2 separate regions of the Homo sapiens genome follow, and region 2 is linked to region 1. Evidence: promoter capture Hi-C in human tissues and cell types (Jung and others, 2019). All regions are on one chromosome and are shown on one strand. The core of a region is centred on a gene start or on the middle of the fragment in contact, and the rest is flanking DNA. Distances in the headings are between cores, read along the strand shown. Region 1 holds the start of FSBP (fibrinogen silencer binding protein). Region 2 has its middle 82 kb from the start of PDP1.

Region 1 (3,234 bases), core at 484-2,983:
TCATCACAGTGAACATTTTAACCAGTGGCCCCAAGAATTAATCCACTGTGTATTCATGTCCTGGATTCCCACTGGTGATATTTTTTTTACTGTGCTATCAAGTAGAAATAAGCAGTATCTGGTAAGAAGCTAGGCTCAAAAATACTTTCCTAGTAAATTACCAAAATAACATATGCACTTGGCTACAAAGTGGTTTTTTTCTGCTTCTCTCCTAATTTCAAAGGGATTTCATAGTAATCAATAATTTGCTTATATAATGCCTCTTCCACCAATAGAAAAGCACATTGTGTAAAGCTTTGTTTGAAAGGCTCCTCAAACTAACAAGGAGTTTACAATTTGTTTAAATTACCCTAAATGGTTCAGAATAAGAATGTAGCTGCCATTTTTATATTTTGCCAGAGGTTACAATCTGAATTAGTGGCAAGATAATACTTTTGAAAATTCCAAGGCAAATAGTTACATAGAAGACAAGTTTAACCAAAAAATTGCTTCTAACTCTAAAAAAACCCAGTTGCTCTTAGGGGTATTTTAAAATTCATAATTTGATATCCTTGCAAAGCAGTAAGAGAAAGCTTACTCTTTCCTATACGACCCAAGATCAAAGTGAAACTAGACTATTAAGGAATAAAAACAACAACAACAAAAAACTTTTAATTTTATTAAGTAAACTGAATCCCTAATTAGGCATTAACTCCCTTTAGTTGTGTTCATCTTTATTTTAAACGTGTTAGAAAAATAATTTAAACTGTCTTCATATACACAATCATGCCATTAACAAGTTTACTTATTGATTTTGTTTATATTTGTTAGTTAACATATATTCAATAAGTGTAGACAATGACAATTCATAAAAAAGCAAGGTTCCATTTCTCTAGAAACTGCTAACTTTATATAAATTTTATATAAAATTGAAAATTCCAGTGAAATGTAATCTTAAATGAGAAAAAAAGTATCTCTCAGAAGCAAACTAAATAATTTAATTTTAAAGCTTAAGAAGTTTATGAAGTGATGTCACAAATTTCAACCCACTTATTCCTCCCTAACCTTTACTTTTAGAAACTACAGGAGGGAAGGGGGAGGGGAAGACAGTAAAAAGTAGCTTAAATGCAACAGAAAAATTCCTCATAGCCTCACTTTTCTCTTTTTAAAAAATGCAAAACAAAGACACTATTCATTGCTCCCGTTGTGGGGATGCTTACTATGCATATCTCTATCACGACTAAGCCAAAGCCCAATAGATAGGAGGCGCCATAATTTTCCATAACAAAACAAAATAAAGCTTACCTTTGTATGTGGTTCCTGTCTCTTACCAGGCAAAAACTGGAAATCTGGGGAATCATCTCCATAACTTTCTTGGTTGGCTCAGAAATATTGCTTTTAAAATCTGATTGGGTCTCTTTTTGCTGCAATAGCTCCTGTTTGGCATATTCTTTGAGCCTTTTATAAAGGGTGCGTAGGCCCTGTGCTGTTCGAGGAGGGCGGTCTACTCCAATTGCATTATAGTTAACTGCTATGATATCCCAACATCTATTCTTTTCTACTATTACTGAATGTTTATTAGTGTGTTCTTCGAGAATTTTCACATATGGCTTCACAAGCTTTAGCAAATCAAGCTTTTCGGATAAGGTAAAATTGGAAGATCTAGCCTTTCCTACCATTGTTCTTTTCAAATTAAGTAGGCAGTTTCTGAAACCACCATGCAGCCTTCAGCTCTGCTCAGCTCTTTTCACAAACAGAAAAAGATCAGGCTTAACTAGGCTAGCCTCATTTAGGCCCACGCCTACAGGGGAGGGTTTATTAAAATTCCTCCAGCTTAAGCTGACGCAGGTTCAGGAAATCTGCTTAAGCCAAGCCTGACCTACATAAAGCTTCTCACTGAAGAAGACAGGAAGGCACAAGCAAAACACACTTGTGTATAAAGGGAACAGCTCGAGACAGGATTTAATACACAAAGGTCTAGAGATAAGCATGGAACACAGCTAAAAATTAGCTAATTTAGTGAGAATATCAAATTTCACACATGTATGCCTAGCTGACAGACTGAACTGCATTGCAGTATCACTTTAATAAAAACAAAAGAGGAACTGTTTTGTGCTATTTATTTACAAATCCAGTAGACAGAAAACTAAAAGATATGAGTAGTGAATGTAGTAATTCCTAACAGAGCCTCTCATCACTGTTTCTGAGCTGAGTGTTCTCCCTTACAAAATCTGCATAATGCTGGATCTGCTGTCAATCAGGAATTGCATATCCTCTAGCTAGTTAGGTTACACCCAGACCCAGACTCCACAGTAAAGCTAAGCTTCTCCTTCATTTTACAGTCTACATTAGCCTCTGCATATTTTTTTCACTTAAGAAAAAATTTTTATAGAACACTCAATCTAAAAAGCAGGTAAAAATCATGTTTTTAAAGCAATGGATTATTCTAGCCGTAATGTATGTGAATTTGCTAGCCTGCCTTATCATGTGTAAAAAATCACTGTTCATGGTGAGAAACAGTATAATCACGCCTTAAGACTCCACATACAAAATCACATTTGCTATTATAATAGAGCCAGATTTTTTATTTAGCTATATTCACACAGTTTGGACTATGAAAGGAAACAGCTAGTCTAGCCATTTTCAAGGCCACCAGTTTCGGTGCTTAGAATATATTTGTTAACCCCAGTATGAAAATATATGATACATAATAATGTAAGCAAGACAAACCTATTTTCTCACAATATACATATTTTTCCAGATAGGGGAATAAATTAGAACATACTTGAACATAGTTCTATCCAATAAAACTATTACTGAACAACTGTGATAGTTATTAAGAGGTAGGAAAAATAAATTGTTTTTAATTACTGACCACGTATATAAATGCTCCCAGGCACTGTGCAAGACCCAATGAAATCAAAAATGAATCTAGATACAGCACCTATCCAGGGAACTGTAGTTCCACAGAAATGCTATAAATTCTCAATTATCTTGTTTTTCATTCTTTTAACAATGGAGAAGCAAATTACATTTACTGAGCTCTCACTGTGAGCCAATGTGTTAAAAGCTTTAAGTGTATTATCTTTCAGAAAACAGTGAAAGATTGCTGGATGTTCTACGGAATGCTAGATGTTGTCTGGTATACGCTACTGAGTAATTTGATTCCATAATAGTTCTACCCTTTCATTGTCTTTGAGCAGTTTCACAGCTCTGTAAATTGTAGAAATCAGTAATGCAAATGATTCTTGTCCA
Region 2 (3,234 bases), core at 192-2,691, 440 kb before region 1:
CCAAGATGGAGAAATCGCTTTCATAAGAGCATGAGCTCTGGAGATGCAATGCCTAGGTTTGAATTTGGGCTGATTACCCATTAGCTGAGGGGCCTTAGGCAAATGACTTAACTTCTCTGTGCCTCGATTTTCTCATCTTAAAAACGGATTGATGCTACTACCTATGCCATATGGCTGTTTGGAGATTAAATGTGGATGCACTCAGAGCAGGCCTGGGTCATGGTGAGCACTCAACATTTGTCAGCTGGTTTTATTATTACTGCTGCTAAGCAGGGGGGTGCTCATATTTGTACCTCCTCCAATTTCAAGATCCTTTGTTCTAAACAATTGGAAATTGCAATGATGAAGTTTGATGCACATTTTTCATTTATTCTTCCACAGACTTCAATTTGATGGTCCACAGAAATGTAATTAGCATCGTGCAAATATTTTGGTCAGGACTAAAACTGCCTTCAATATTTAGCAAAAAGAACCAAACATAAGCGTCATCACGTTTTGAAAGCTGAATGTGAGAGCTCTGTGGGCAAATCCCCTCATAAGTGAGAGATTTTGAATAAACAGTAATTATGTAGCAAAAACCTAAGTAACAGCTGCAGGGAGTATTGAGACAAACAGCCTGGAAGTTTGTGTACATGAAGGATGTAACCTGGTGGAGTAATTTATTATCTGGGACAACGGAAATATCAACTGTATGAGCATCATCTGTATAGGAAATTTAGGAAATGAAAATATTTCCATGTCATCGTGGAACACTTATTACTATAAGGTTTACATTTTGAAAGTAGGTGTGACGTTAGCCAGCTGTGGTTTACTGGTATGATATACAATGATGATAAAACCTACGTATATTTATCTGATATTGTCAGAATTGCTAGTCACTCCCTAGATAGAGTATGGTAGTGATTTTCCATTTTCTCATTATTTTTATTTAACAGTAATTTTTGAAAGGATTTTAGCACTTCAAGTAAATGGTGAGGAAACAAAGAACTAGGGAGAGAGGGAGAGAGCATGTGACATACATGAGTGGGTAGAGATGAGAAAACAGTACAGCCGAGTGCCCCTAAGTGTAAAGATGAAATGAAAATCTTCTGTTTGCCTCTACTGTGAATTTCAGGTCAAATCTTTCCTTATTGAAGATTCACCCAAGAGACATCAAGATGACCTCTGGCCAGAGACTGAGTCATCTTTGCATGACATCAACACGACCTGCTTCTGCAGGCCCTTGGGGAACAGAGCAGAAGCTCTATTCCAGATCTAAGATGGCAGCCTGGGAACCCTTTCCAACCATGTGCATATAAGGATCTTGACACGGAAATAGATGGTACAGTTTTCCTCCTTGTATAATTCATTCTGGTTATCCACACACCTAGAACCGTGAAGTTTATAATCTGCTCCTTTCTAACTGCTGCTTATAGAAATATATTTGCCGAAGTCAATGAGAGCCATCGGCAATATGAGGAATTGAGAAGTGAAGCCAGCTGGACTTCCTGGGTAGAGTGGGGACTTGGAGAACTTTTCCGTCTTACAAGAGGTTTGTAAAATGCACCAATCAGTGCTCTGTAAAAGTGCACCAATCAGCGCTCTGTAGCTACTAGAGGTTTGTAAAATGCGCCAATCAGTGCTCTGTAAAAACACACCAATCGGCGCTCAGTAGCTAGCTAGAGGTTTGTAAAATGGACCAATCAGCACTCTGTAAAATGGACCAGTCAGCACTCTGTAAAATGGACCAATCAGCAGGACATGGGCGGGGACAAATAAGGGAATAATAGCTGGCCACCCCAGCCAACAGTGGCAACCCGGTTGGGTCCCCTTCTGCGCTGTGGAAGCTTTGTTCTTTTGCTCTTCACAATAAATCTTGCTGCTGCTCACTCTTTGGGTCCCTGCCATCTTCTTTAAGAGCTGTAACACTCACTGCAAAGGTCTGCGGCTCCATTCTTGAAGTCAGCGAGACCACGAATGCACTGGAAGGAACCAACTCTGGACACAGAATGAGAGGGTATCCAATGGGAGAGGGTCGTAGAAATCCCAAGTGTGAGGAAATGTGCGTGGAAGTAGATTTGTTGCACACTCCTTTTCTTTAGGAACCTGCTGCATATATGTGTTACACTTTTGTACAACTCTGGAGGAAATGCTACTTGACCTGATGTCCTCATTCACCAAGAATTCAAGCAGGAAGAGTTGGATAATCCTTCCACATCATCCCAATTAGTCCTCAAGGATTGTCTTTTAATTTTTTGACAAAGCATTTACAGAAAAATACATAAATGAATGAAAAAATGCCTTCTCCTTCCAGCTTAAGTTGGGGTGTGGTCATGATAAGACACATACATTTGTGAAGTGTAGGGCTATAATACTATATTTCTTCTGAGATAAGCAATGTGATAGGTTTTTATTTCTGCATCATTTTAGAGATATGTACAAACAAGACTCAGAGATTTAAGATTTCCAGAAGCATCCAAAACAGAACTTTTCATTCTCATCCCATTACTCTATGTTGTAAATCACTACAGGGTTATTTTAACTGAAATTGCCTGATACACTGAAAAGTCATGTCCACTACGTGTAGGAGATAAAGAAAGGAAAATAAAGGAAAAGGAAGGAAGGGAGGTGGGGTGCAAAGGGAAGAAGAAGGGTGAATTATCCTTCACTGTCTCAGTTTGGTTTTTCCAGTTCAATCGCTGGTAGCCCAGGTGGAAGAGATGCATGGGGCTAACCCTCTACCCTCTGGCACTCAACAAATTAACTGAAGGGTGTTTGCACTGAGCTATTATGCCAAGGAAGAACTACTAACACAGACTAGGTTGGGAGAAATGGTAGTTTTGATTTACTCACAGCTTATAGCAGGAAGAACAAATTGAGTGAAACTAAGGCAGACTTACAGTTTGTTTGCTAAACTCTTGGCCAGCCAGAATCATGCACCCGTCATATTTACTCAGCTCTTATTACGGAGATTGCTCCAAAATTTAGACAATGCAGGGTGTTTTAAGTTTTTTCTCTAAAGCAATAAACTCTAGACATTCTTAGGTAGCAGTGCATTTGGATGGCAGTTTTCAAATGTAAGTATTAGAGAAACACCAGGCAATTGGCTTTTCAGTGAAAAGAAAATTGTGAATTGTGGTTAGCAACAGATAAAACTAGCCATACCAGTTACTTTTAAGACCTCTCTCTCTCTCTGTCTTTTTAAGAGACAGGGTCTTGCTCTATCACCCAGGCTGGAGTGCAGTGGTGCAATCA

What was found. The method cuts DNA at HindIII sites, captures the fragments that hold promoters and counts their contacts. A contact is called where the count stands out against the background at its distance.
Region 2: a contact is called between a fragment that was not itself captured here and the fragment with the promoter of FSBP in region 1, in 1 of the 25 tissues and cell types used here (mesenchymal stem cells).

Annotation. Positions count from the first base shown.
Region 1 is chr8:94,435,211-94,438,444 of GRCh38, forward strand. It overlaps FSBP (fibrinogen silencer binding protein), which reads right to left and starts at 1,734. Exons shown (of 2, transcript NM_001256141.2): 1 at 1,285-1,734. The coding sequence starts at 1,658. The region is part of intron 3 of RAD54B (RAD54 homolog B); the gene reads right to left. RefSeq lists an enhancer at 1-90. The HindIII fragment of the contact is 647 bases long and covers 1,439-2,085 here.
Region 2 is chr8:93,997,589-94,000,822 of GRCh38, forward strand. No RefSeq gene overlaps it. Among named protein-coding and RNA genes, the nearest start is that of PDP1, 82 kb to the left of the region's middle. The HindIII fragment of the contact is 7,356 bases long and covers 1-3,234 here.